Regions from separate parts of the Homo sapiens genome. Here region 1 is linked to region 2. Evidence: promoter capture Hi-C in 16 types of primary human blood cells and fetal thymus (Javierre and others, 2016). All regions are on one chromosome and are shown on one strand. Each heading gives the region's core, a stretch centred on a gene start or on the middle of the fragment in contact. The rest is flanking DNA. Distances are from core to core; before and after follow the strand shown. Region 1 holds the start of XKRX (XK related X-linked). Region 2 holds the start of TRMT2B (tRNA methyltransferase 2B).

Evidence for each region. The method cuts DNA at HindIII sites, captures the fragments that hold promoters and counts their contacts. A CHiCAGO score of 5 or more calls a contact.
Region 1: a contact is called between the fragment with the promoter of XKRX here and the fragment with the promoter of TRMT2B in region 2, in 5 of 17 cell types (total B cells, naive CD8 T cells, endothelial precursors and 2 more). The highest score is 5.8, in total B cells.

The regions. Positions count from the first base shown.
Region 1 is chrX:100,924,118-100,930,994 of GRCh38, reverse strand. It overlaps XKRX (XK related X-linked), which reads left to right and starts at 2,078. Exons shown (of 3, transcript NM_212559.3): 1 at 2,078-3,025. The coding sequence starts at 2,691. RefSeq lists enhancers at 1,432-1,481, 2,675-3,874. The HindIII fragment of the contact is 22,335 bases long and covers 1-5,732 here.
Region 2 is chrX:101,050,277-101,056,314 of GRCh38, reverse strand. TRMT2B (tRNA methyltransferase 2B) reads left to right here and starts at 4,204. Exons shown (of 14, transcript NM_024917.6): 1 at 4,204-4,498; 2 at 4,582-5,064. The HindIII fragment of the contact is 12,653 bases long and covers 2,412-6,038 here.

The DNA.
Region 1 (6,877 bases), core at 829-3,328, 120 kb after region 2:
ACGCCCAGCTAATTTTTGAATTTTTAGTAGAGACAGGATTTCACCATGTTGGTCAGGCTGGTCTCAAACTCCTGATCTCAGGCCATTCACCCACCTTGGCCTCCCGAAATGCTGGGATTACAGGCATGAGCTACCGCGCCCGGCTGACTCTCTCATGTTTAGGGGGACCAACTCACCCTATCCCAGTGAAATGGGATTAATTGGTCACCTTGCCTGAGATTCACCTTGTGAACAGTTACCTAGAGCAGCCCCAAGAGGTTCTGCACCATATACTGGTGGTGGAGAACCTTGTCCCAGTTGGAATGTCCCAACTAATAAGAAAAAGAACACTCTCTGAAGTTGTTCTCAATAGTGTTGACCTCCTTCATGAAATGGAAAGGAGAAAGGAGCAGCCTCCTAGCCCAGCTGCTAGCATAGGTGCAGACCAAGATGCGGAGTCTGCTTCAGAAGGTGACAACCTTTAGATGTTGAATCTGTCCCTGAATCAGCCCTGGGGAAAGGAGGCAGCAATCATGGAAACCTTAAAAAAACAAAAAACAACATAATGACAGGACAACCTGGAGGCCATTATTTTGGTGGCTGCTACTTGGCCACTCCTCACATAGATTTGTTTTACTGACTTCCTGCAGCAAAAGGAGATTGGCACAGGCTCTGCTACATAATCATCATTATTATTATTATTATTATTATTATTATTATTATTATTAAGACGTAATCTTGCTCTGTTGCCCAGGCTGGAGTGCAGTGGCGTGATCTCAGCTCACTGCAACCTCTGCCGTCCGGGTTCAAGTTTTTCTCCTGCCTCAGCCTCCTGAGTAGCTGGGATTACAGTCACGCACCACCACGACCAGCTGATTTTTGTATTTTTAGTAGAGATGGGGTTTCACCACGTTGGCCAGGCTGGTTTCGAACTCCTGACCTCAAGTGATCTGCCTGCCTCAGCCTCCCAAAGTGCTGGGATTACAGGCGTGAACCACTGTGCCTGGCCTTCATCTATATTATTACCAGGAGGCAGATGTGTTCTCTTTTTCTCTGAGGTTTAGAATTATGCAAATGAAGATATGAAAACAAAAGCTCAGTGAGGTGGGGAGGATTACACTTAAGAATACAGGTAATTTTCAAAGCTCTTTAAGACACCCCTCTCAGTTTTTACTAACAGCTCTCTCTTGGCTCTTTGCCAGTCTGTTTAGAATTTGGCACCTCTTCATAACCTTTCAACCAAAGACCTGTAAGTTCATTCTAAAGCTCCTATCCTGGCCTCATTTTGCAAGTGGAGAAATCAAGGCATAAAATATGAGCTTTCAGTGTCTGTGGGCTGACCTTGAGTCTTGACCTTTATCCTGTTCTATCTTCCCTCCGCCGAAAACTCTGACCCTATTCCTCCCAGGTTCCCCCTTCATGATATTATCTGGAGGGCAATAGGACCTAGGGAGGTTCCACCCTGCGGCGGAGGGAGACACACCTGCCTAACAGCGTGGGTAGAGTGAGTGTTGAAGCAAGTCACTTAACTAGTTAGGGAGGGCGGGGTAGAAGTGGGGGCCTGCTGCTCCTAGGGAGGAGTAAAGCTGTGGCTCCTGCCTGGGTCTGGAGGTGGTGGTCAGAAGTGCTTCTGAAGAGCGGCCCAAGCCCCTTTTTGTCCCGCCACTCCACAACGAGCATCCCTCGGCTGGCCGCCTGCCCGGGAACTCTCCGGCTGGTTTTGTTTGGCCGCAGCCGTCCCGCCCATCTCGCCCGCCCCCGCCGTCCCGGTGCCTTAGTTTTTGAAGCTGCCGACCTCTCGCAGCTGGAATCGCAGACCAGGCAGGACCCTGGCAGCAGACGGCGTCCAAGAGTTTGGCGACCTCCGTCCAGCCAGGTTGGCGCCCCGCACATCGTGCCTCTCACTAGCAAAGTTTCTCCGAGGAGAAGCAGCCCCTCCAGCCTTTTCTTCATCCTGTAGAGCGAGCGCGCTCTGCTTCTGTCCCTCAACACTGCATTCGGAGACAGGGTGGTGACAATACTCCACTCCCGGGCCAGGCGGTCTTGGGGGCGGGGCTTGGGGGAATCCGAGGAGCTATCCTGAGAACCCTGGACTCGGCAAAGGTCCTGAGAGCGCGCAGGTGAGCGGGCCAGCTGATAGCTACAGCCTAGCAATAGCTAGGATACCTAGGCACTGAACTGAATCCCCTCTTCTGCCCTCCTTCTTCTGCGCCCGCTCTTCTGCCCTGGCTCAGCTCTCCGCTGACTTGAGAGGACACACTGGTCAGGACTCTTTGTGAGGAGCTGCTGAGTGTCGGTGCCCCCGACAGATCGGCTACACCCTGCCTGAGGGGCTGCGAAAGGAGCCGCCACGGAAGCCGCTGTTCTCATGACTCTTCACGTCCCTGGAGTTGGACTCTGGATGGGGCGCTGGGATGCTTGCTTTTGTCTTGTTCAAGTTTCACAGCAAGTATGTTGACGATTGGAATCGGGGCCAATCAAGAGTCAAGTTCAAAGTGGTACTCCTGGGCTTTCCATCCCAGACTCCAAGTCGAATCTGAGTCTAGAAGAGAGCGGTTTCTTGCTCTAACTAGTGAATCTCTGTTCCCAAACTGGACTTGACAGAGCTCTCCTCACCTATACTTGGACTGTAGCGGCCATAGGGTTCTCTTGGGGATGGGTGGGAGGGTGCTATGAACACAAGACCACAACATTCAGAAAGAACCTCGACAATGGACAGAGTTTATGAAATTCCTGAGGAGCCAAATGTGGATCCGGTTTCATCTCTGGAGGAAGATGTCATCCGTGGAGCCAACCCCCGATTTACTTTTCCATTTAGCATCCTTTTCTCCACCTTTTTGTACTGTGGGGAGGCTGCATCTGCTTTGTACATGGTTAGAATCTATCGAAAGAATAGTGAAACTTACTGGATGACATACACCTTTTCTTTCTTTATGTTTTCATCCATTATGGTCCAGTTGACCCTCATTTTTGTCCACAGAGATCTAGCCAAAGATAAACCGCTATCATTATTTATGCATCTAATCCTCTTGGGACCTGTTATCAGGTGAGCAACTTTTAAATCTTTTCCTTACCCCCCTAACCCCACCCCAGACTTGGGCAGAGAAAGATGAAAGATTTACAAGATGGATACTATGGCTCTAATCAATTCTCTCATTTCCTCCCACTCTCGGCTTCCCTGTCTACCATTCAGAAAACTTACCTGAAATCTTAAATGCCACCATGATGAACATGTGGTATGTACTTGTGTTCCAAAACAATGAACGATGCTATTTGGCCTGTGTAAACTAGAATGGGAACAACAAGACGTGATCACCCTGTGCATGAAGGCCATAGCTGCAGAGTGTGTAATTTTATTTAAAAAATTTTTTTTTTCTGAGACAAGGTCTTGCTCTGCCTCCCAGGCTACAGTGCAGTGGTGCGATCATGGCTCACTGCAGCCTTGATCTCCTGGGATCAAGCGAACCTCCCACCTCAGCCTCCAAGTAGCTGGGACCAAAGGAATGTGTCACCATGCCTGGTTAATTAAAAAAAAATTTTTATAGGCCGGGTGTGGTGGCTCATGCCTGTAATCCCAGCACTTTGGGAGGCTGAGGCGGGTGGATCACCTGAGGTCAGGAGTTCAAGACCAGCTGGCCAACATGGTGAAACCCCTGTCTCTACTAAAAATCAGCTGGGTGTGGTGGCGCATATCTGTAATCCCAGCTACTCTGGTGGCTGAGGCAGGAGAATCACTTGAACCCGGAAGGTAGAGGTTGCAGTGAGCCAAGATCGGTGCCACTGCACTCCAGCCTGGGCGATAGAGTGAGACTCCATCTCAAAAAAAAAAAAATTTTTTTTGTAGAGACGGGATCTCGTTATGTAGACTGGGCTCAAGTGATCTTCCTGCCTCAGCCTCCCAAAGTGAGCCACCGCGCCTGGTCTGAGTGTGTAATTTTGACTCTACCTTTTGGATGCTTTGTAAATTGGATAAAAGTTTCTTTACCCTGAGCTGCTTGGGCTGGTGCTACTGCCATTTTCAAATTTTCCAGAGTAATGTGACATCTGGAAACTATTTTAAACCATCTGTGGTAATCTGTACCCCAACCCAATATAGTTCAGTTCTCTGTCGGTTTATCAGTTTCCTATTTATCTCTTTGTATATTTCTGCAATAAAGATACGAAGTTGGGAGGGGGCAAAGGAAGGCAGTTCATCTCTCTATGTGGATGCAGTAGCACAATTTAATAGTATCAAGTATTTCCATTCAGATTGCCTTGAAGTGGAAAGAATGCACTTAATCCTAGCGAGATAGGCACCTGTGTCAACAGTCTCATCTGGATGCTATGGGGTTTTCAAGGTAGAGAGATGTTGCAAAACTTATGAGTTCAGGAGTAAGGAATGGACCAAGTTTGTCTTGATTGCAAGAGAGGCAGACAACTGCAGTCAGCCGAGGAATATGGGTCAGAGTGTTGCAATGGGAAGATACCTCATCATTAGACAACTAAAAAGTCTGTGAAACTAATTAAGGATGGAACTCACTCCTTTATAAAATTTCATATCTGTACACATGTATAATTTTTATTTGTCACTTATACCTCAATAAGGCCAAAAAAATTTTTTATCAATAAATTTTTAAGTGGGGAGGAATCGATTAGGCTCTATCAGAGAGAATATGGGATATCAATGGAAACAGTGGCCTGAAATTTGGAGTCTAGTCTTCCCCCTGTCATTGACTGGTTGTGTGTTCTTGGTAAAATCTCTGAAGATGGCTTCACAGGAAGGCATATAGAGTTCCCTCATCTGTAAAGCAAATGGGTTAGTCTAAATCATGGGTCTCAAACTCAAACACTTGCAGGGACCAGGCAGGTATCATAAATGAATGAAGCAGGCCTAGTATAAGAAAAAACAGTAGCCTTGTGTGAGATGATAAATGAAAACAAAGTCTCAGAGAAATACTGAGGAGTAGTGAGTACCATGGTAATCTGAAATCTTCATGACCTGCCTGAAGGAGGTAGCCCCTCTAGAGCCCTGGCGCATTGTTTCCATGTTGGAATTCAGACCCAGTATTGCCAGATCCACTAACTTTTCGGGAGATGCTCCCAAGACAGGATTTTTATATGAAATGTCATGATTTTAAATTTTCACAGCTGACTAAAACAATAACAACAACAACACAGGATGGACCAAACCATATCTGTTGGTCAGATATAACTCAGCTGGCCTATATGCATCTTTGGACTGGGTGATGTAAAGGTCCTTTACGGTTCTAAATCTTTGAAGTTAAGCTGTAAAAGGAAGACCTCATCTTGACCTTGAAACCAAGAAATTTAAAGTTGTGACTACAGGAGCAAATAAACCATTCATCCCTCCTTTTTCAAATACAATATATTGAGTTAACCAATCGAAAACTCTCAAGATACAAATTTCAGAAAGTACCCAGCTGCACCCTCCCCTCTTTTTGACTTCCTTTGTTTGCTTTGTGAACCCTCTGTGTAGAGTGTTGAGTACTGTTTTTCATTTTTGTTGTTTAGCTTCCACTAGAAATGATTGGGAAGCATTTATAACCTCAGGCAGCTTAGCCCACAGCAGAGAAAAGATAAAAACTCATAAATTATACTCTGGATTCGCTTATTTTCAAGGCCAATTACTTGTTAGATAGGTAGGAACTTGATTAGTGTTATCAGGCACATGAAGGTGCTTGTAGAGTCTGGGTGCCTTACATGAAATGCAAGCATACTTCCGAAATGAAAATGTACTCTAATTTATTGAAGCTTATAAATGGACAAACACCCTTACTTAAACCAGAAAATAGCCCTGAGAATAGAAACAGAACATTTATGTAAATGTAAACGGAACATTTCATGCCACCACCTTCTCCAATACTGTTCTCCAATTTAGCAATAGTACTGATGGGTTGGGGTTAAAATCTAAAATTTTTCATTGAAAATGCACTTATGCAGAACAAGAATAGGAAAAAAGTGTTGCTTTTTCTTCTCTGTTCTTTCTTTGCATCTTTTTCTTTCCCAGGTCTTAGAGTTTGTCCCTAGAAGGTGACAATTTCAAACTACATGCTTCAGAGTGGTACACATGCATCAGTCTTAGGGTGATCTATGGAGACTGGCAGCCAGCATATGTTCCAAATTTTCCTATCAGGAACTAAAGGCTAGAGAGCATATCAACCTCTGGGCTTGTCTTTGGTCTACTTTTCTGTTAAATTTCATTGCTGTTATTATTATCCTCTCCTCCCATAATTGCTTACCCTGTATTATTTTCTTCCTTCTTATTCTTTCATTTACTCAGCAAATATTTCTCAAATACCTACTAAGTGATAAGAGCTGTAAACAAGATAAATACAACCCTTGACCTCAGTCTCTTGGGCAAGACGTGTTAATGTCCACTACAAATGTTCTTACTAGTCATAAGTAGTCCACAGTTTTTATTCATTAAAGGTGAGTGGCGAAGTGGTAACTCAGGTGTTCCAGAACAAGATGTTCTAGTTGCTTCTCTTCCACTTACCACATCAGAACTGCTAAAGACTTCTGATTTGTATGGGGGAGGTGGGAGGGGCAGAGCAGGAAATGTCATCTTACCCTTATTCCAAGGATGATAGGCTTTCATAAGGATGTTTTTCTCTTCGTAAAGAAAGAATCCAGTTTAAAAGGCTTTTGTCCACAAACAGGACAAGAGGCACAAAAAGTAACTATTACAGTGATCTTTCGAGGGCCTAGTTATGTAGTTCATTCAGGTTTGAGTTGTCGTCTTTTAAGTACTTTTGTTGCTTTGATGGCTTCCTGTGTATATGAGATATTTTTTTTCCTCTGATCTGTCCCAAGACTTTTTGGCTGAGATATGGTTGTGAGCCCTTTCTTGAAAAAGCAGAATCTGGCCAGGCGCAGTGGCTCATGCCTGTAATCTCAG
Region 2 (6,038 bases), core at 2,955-5,454:
CTGTAATCCCAGCTACTTGGGAGGATGAAGCAGGAGAATTGCTTGAACCCAGGAGGCGGAGGTTGCAGTGAGCTGAATTCACACCATTGCACTCCAGCCTGGGCAACAAGAGTGAAACTCCATCTCAAAAAAAAAAAAAAAAAAAAAAAAAAAGGAAAAGAAAAGAAAAAAAGAAGAAAAAAAAGCAATTCTCCTGTTTCAGCTCCTGAATAGCGGGGATTACAGGCATGCACCACCACGCCCAGCTACTTTTTGTATTTTTAGTAGAGACGGGGTTTCACCATGTTGGCCAGGCTGGTCTTGAACTCCTGACCTCAGGTGATACTGCCCGCCTCAGCCTCCCAAAGTGCTGGGATTACAGGCATGAGCCTCCTTACCCGGCCTTAGGTGGTTTTTGATCAAGGAGAACTTTAGAATTGTGGTGCTTGTCCAAGATGGCGATGCTCCTGCTTGGTAAATTTTAATATGTTATTTCTGAGAGCGAATGCTGTAGCCTCTCAGCTATCTTTTCCTTGCACCAAAATGAGAATGTTTGACAAATTCCTAGGGATTTCACTTTGTTGTGATTTGGTTTGCTAATAACAAAATTAAGTAAAAGGTTATCTTGGTTCCAGCTCTTATTTGAGTTAACAATATTCCTTATCATCTATGACATATCCACTTACTGACTTTCTGGTTGAAGGGTCTAACCTTTCCTATAATACGGGGTATTTCTTTCCCCTCTTACAAATGTAATGATTTCGCTTTTATAGTAGAATATGCTTTACCAGATTAAATAAATATAAAGGGGTTAATGGCTAAATAATTACATTATAGCTGCTTTAATCTCTTTTCTCTCTCTACCCCTCAGGGTTTTCCTCCTTGAATGACAGGCCTGCTTTAAATGAATTTGCCTGGATGCTCAAAATAGGTGGGGGTGAGGGAGGAAATGCCTTCTCTCTTTCAGCAGACAAGATGGAATTCAGTTTAATTAATCAAATATTAATATTTATTGAGCTCGTATGGGACACCTGATTCTGTGCTAGGCACAACACAGAAGGCCAAAACGAGAAGTGATAAAGGAGCAGAAGGGCTTGGGAAGGGGAAGAAAGGGGAAGAGGAGGTGATAAAAGGTGTAGAGCTGTCTAGCCATATAAGAGGGGATTAAAAGATGAGAAAGGGAAAATAGAGCCAAAGGTAAATTCTCTGGCCTGGTCTCACTTGATAGCCCTGCATGGGCCTAGAAGGCTGAAGCAGTGGTTTGAGTTCAAATTTTGCTTATGAGCCATGAGAGCAGTTAGGATAGTGGCAATTTGAGTCAAACATTTACCTCCTCAAGGGTTTAGGATGGAAGTGAAATCTCTCTTTAAAAAACAAGAAACATACACGTGTGTGTTTGTGTGTGTGTGTGTGTGTGTGTGTGTGTGTGTGTGTGTTGTGGGGGCCAAAGTCATTGGCCCCTGAAGGTTCACTAAAATATCACTGATATGAGGCTGATTCATAGGAGAAAAGGCATACAAATTTATTTAACATGTACACATGGGAGCCTTCATCATGGAGACCCAACCTCCCAATAATTAACAGAAGCTTATATATCATCTTGAAATTACAGAAAGAGACCAGGCGTGGCTCATGCCTGTAATCCCAGCACTTTGGGAGGCCGAGGCGGGCAGATCACGAGGTCAAGAGATCGAGACCATCCTGGCCAACATGTTGAAACCCCGTCTCTACTAAAAATACAAAAATTAGCTGGGCGTGGTGGTGCAAGCCTGTAGTCCAGCTACTAGGGAGGCTGAGGCAGGAGAATCGCTCGAACCCGGGAGGCAGAGGTTGCAGTGAGCCGAGATCGCGCCACTGCACTCCAGCCTGGGTGACAGAGCGAGACTCCATCTCAAAAAAAAAAAAAGCCGGGCGTGGTGGCTCACGGCTGTAATCCCAGGACTTTTGGAAGCCGAGGCGGGTGGATCACGAGGTTGGGAGATCAAGACCATCCTGGCTAACACGGTGAAACGCCGTCACTACTAAAAATACAAAAAATTAGCCAGGCGTGGTGGCGGGCGCCTGTAGTCCCAGCTACTTGGGAGGCTGAGGCAGGAGAATGGCATGAACCCGGGAGGCGGAGCTTGCAACAGTGAGCCGAGATCGCGCCACTGCACTCCAGCCTGGGTGACAGAGCGAGACTCCACCTCAAAAAAAAAAAGTAAGAAATTACAGAAAGAATGTGGACGAACTCAGAGTATATACAAAAACAGGTTTTAGTGGCAAGATAGGTTATGGAAGAAAGGAAGAGACTTGGTTTGTGAAGGTGGCCTTGTCATGTAGAGGAAGCCTCCTTCCGAAAGAATAGCTGGTAAATGCTTCTTTTCAAACTTTTAAAGATGTCAGACTCTCAATCTCTCCTGGATCCAGGTAAGGCATAGAAATGGGAAGCTTGGCTGTATTCAAGGAGGTTCTCTACAGATGCAAATTTCCCCCATCTCAGTCCTCTGGTCCTGAGGCAGCCATTTCAAACATATGGCAAATACATTTATTTTGGGGTAAAATATTTTTATTTTCTTCAGAATGTATGAACACACAGTATATCAACTTATTTTGAATGATAATAGCTAACTTTGTGTACTTACTGTATTCTAAGCACTTTGTGTGTATTAACTCATTTAATCGTTGTCACAACCGTATGAGGTAGGTAAAATTATTGTGGACATTTTTTTTCAGATGATGAAACTGAAGCACTGAGTAATTAAATAACTTGCTCAGTGGACACAGCTTATCAGTGGCAGATCTGCTGGGGGTGGTGGCTTATGCCTGTAATCCCAGCACTTTGGGAGGCCGAGGCAGGCGGATCACCTGAGGTCAGGAGATCGAGACCAGCCTGACCGACGTGGTGAAACTCCATCTCTACTAAAAATACAAAAATTAGCTGGGCGTGATGGTGCACTCCTGTAATCCCAGCTACTCGGGAGGCTGAGGCAGGAGAATCGCTTGAACCTGGGAGGCGGAGGTTGCGGTGAGCCGAGATCACACCATTGCACTCTAGCCTGGGCAACAAGAGCAAAACTCTGTCTCAAAAAACAGAAAAATAGAAAATAAGTGGCAGATCTGGGCTTTGAATCCTATTCTGACTGACTCAATGTTTGCTGCTATTTGAAGTATTGGGCCTTGTTTAATTTACTACTGTACTCACTAAGGCTAACACATTGCCTTGCACATAATAGGCATGTTATGCTTTGAATAAATATTAATACATGAAATGTTGACTACAAAGTGTTTTCCACTTGAGCACAATTACTATTAAGCATAAAAATTAAATATCATTAAATGTACGTTCACTATTTTTTTTTTTTGAAACGGAGTTTCACTCTTTTTGCCCAGGCTGGAATGCAATGGCATGATCTCAGCTCACTGCAACCTCCACCACCTGGGTTCGAGTGACTCTCCTGCCTCAGCCTCCTGAGCAGCTGGGATTACAGGCGTGCGCCACCACGCCTAGCTAATTTTTGTATTTTTAGTAGAGATGGGGTTTCACCATGTTGGTCAGGCTGGTCTCGAACCCCTGACCTCAGGTGATCCTTCCGCCTCGGCCTCCCAAACTGCTGGGATTACAGGCGTGAGCCACTGCACCCACCTCGGTAGGTTCACTTTGCTGTAAATTTTACTCTATTAAAGCAACAATATTTTACAGCACACAGATGTGTGTATACTTCAAGTTTTCTTACTCGTGGCTGGGCTAATGACTCCTCTAAAAATTAGAGGTATTACTGAATGTAGTCCAGGAGGTAGTGAATCAACCAAAAAGAGACATCTGTCCTCTTTTTGAGTTCTGTAGTTGAAGAAAAAGATTATTTCTGAGGGTTTAGGATTTAATAGTCTTGAGTGGGATCCAGTGAAGAAACTATAAAGTATTTTTCTGATGCAGTGTTAAAAGAGAATGAATGCTTGAGAAACCCCACGGCCCAGAATAGATCTGGCTTTTACCAAAGGATGCCATTTCACGGAACCACCCTGTTTCTCATCTCCCAATCTTCCAACCCGTTAGGGATCTGATGTCTGCAATTCTATCATGAGAAAACTATTCCTTGAGTTGGAAGACTTAAACTGCAAGCACCCCTGGGATGGCTAACGCAGTTAACACTGCAGTGTGAACGTCTTCGTGAGTCTCTTATGTAGATCCACCAATGGGACGGTGAGGAAAGAGCAGGTGGTGGGCGGGGCCCCGGGGAGGGGAGGAGAGGAGAACTTAGAGAAGGAAGGCGGCGGGTGTCAGGGCTATGAGTGCTTTTAAGGAAGGTCTCCATAGAAGGTTCCCCCAGCAAAGTAGGGAGGGGTACTCCCCGAGAGGAGTCGAGGTGCCGGAGCCTGCTGCCTCGCCGACGCTGGGAGGAGCCCCGTGTCCCGCCGCGCTTGCCAAGGGTTGGCTGCGCGTGCGGCGGGAGTAGAGGCGCCTTGCGCACCAGGAAGTGACTGTTTCCCCGCCGCAGCAAACCAGGCCATCCGCTGGCCTTTTAGTTTGCCGCCTCAGGTTTGTAAGAGGATTTATTGGTTACGAAGGAAGGTAAGGTGGATAAATAGCCCGGAAAACCTGATTTAACCCTTGCTTTACAGAAAACTCCCTACTATGCCAAACTGTCCGCGGGGCGGGGAATGGAGGAGGCAGGCGGGGCTGGAGACGGGACCCGACGGTGACTGCGCAAGGTCGTGTACGGCCCAGCGTGGGCCTGTGCCCTAACTCCTCCCACTCCCTTACTTTCTGTCCTTCCCGGGCCCTGCAGACCGGCCAAGTTTAGTGGTAGCCTTTCCTAGTGTCTCCTCTTTGTTAACCCTTCCTACAGACACAGTGGGCAGAACTTGCCTAAAGAAGAAGGGAATGGAAGGGCTAGTGGAGTCTTGTTGGGGAGACAAGGACCTGACTGCCTGTGGGCTGCATTCGGGACACGACACAGCAGTCAACCCATTTGCTTGTTTGGTTTAGCAAGGAATAGTGTCTGGAGCCGGTCCAGCTGAAGGAAGGGTGAGCAGAGAGTGCAAGCAGGACCCTTGTCGGTGGGTGAACATTTTGCTCCAAAAGGGATCCTTGGCCCTGCGCAGGTGAGACCTACCACATAGTCTCTTTGATTTGAACCTCTCTGAGCACAGGAGAGTTAGCCTGCCTTCCTATTTGGGCTACTCTGGACTCCAGGACTCTTCCTGATCAATTCCTGAGGCAGGTATAGAACAGTCGAGCACGACTGCTCACACGCTTTTTTTTTTTTTTGCTGAGGAAAAAACTCCCAAGCATTTTTATTTTTTATTTGTTTGAGACGGAGTCTAGCTTTGTCACCCAGGCTGGAGTGCAGTGGTGCGATCTCGGCTCACTGCAACCTCCGCCTCCCGGGTTCAAGTGATTCTCCTGCCTCAGCCTCTGGAGTAGCTAGGATTACAGGCGCCTGCCACCACGCCCAGCTAATTTTTGTATTTTTAGTAGAGACTGGGTTTCACTCTGTTGGTCAGGCTGCTCTCGAACTCCTGACCTTGTGATCCGGCTGCCTCGGCCTCCCAAAGTGCTGGGATTACAAGCGAGAGCCACCGAGCCTGGCCCCCAAGCATTTATTTTTTATTTTTTATTTTTATTTTTGAGACAGAGTTTCACTCTTGTTGCCCAGGCTGGAGTGCAATGGTGTGATCTCGCCTCACCGCAACCTCTGCCTCCCAGGTTCAAGCGATTCTCCTGCCTCAGCCTCCCGAGTAGCTGGGATTACAGGCGTGCGCCACCACACCCGGCTAATTTTGTACTTTTAGTATAGACAGGGTTTCTCCATGTTGGTCAGGTTGGTCTCAAACTCCTGAGCTCAGGTGACCTGTCAGCCTCGGCCTCCCAAAGTGCTGGGATTGCAGGCGTGAGCCACCGCACCTGGCCCCAAGCACTTATTTAAAACAGGACAAAATATAAAAAGAAAATAGTCTCTTCTGTGAACAAATGTCTCCCCTGACATTAAGAAAGAAACAGAACTCACCTTGACTAGTATGAGTGTGCTGCCTTGAAAAAGAAATTTCACCACAGAAGTTACTAAATATGACAGGCT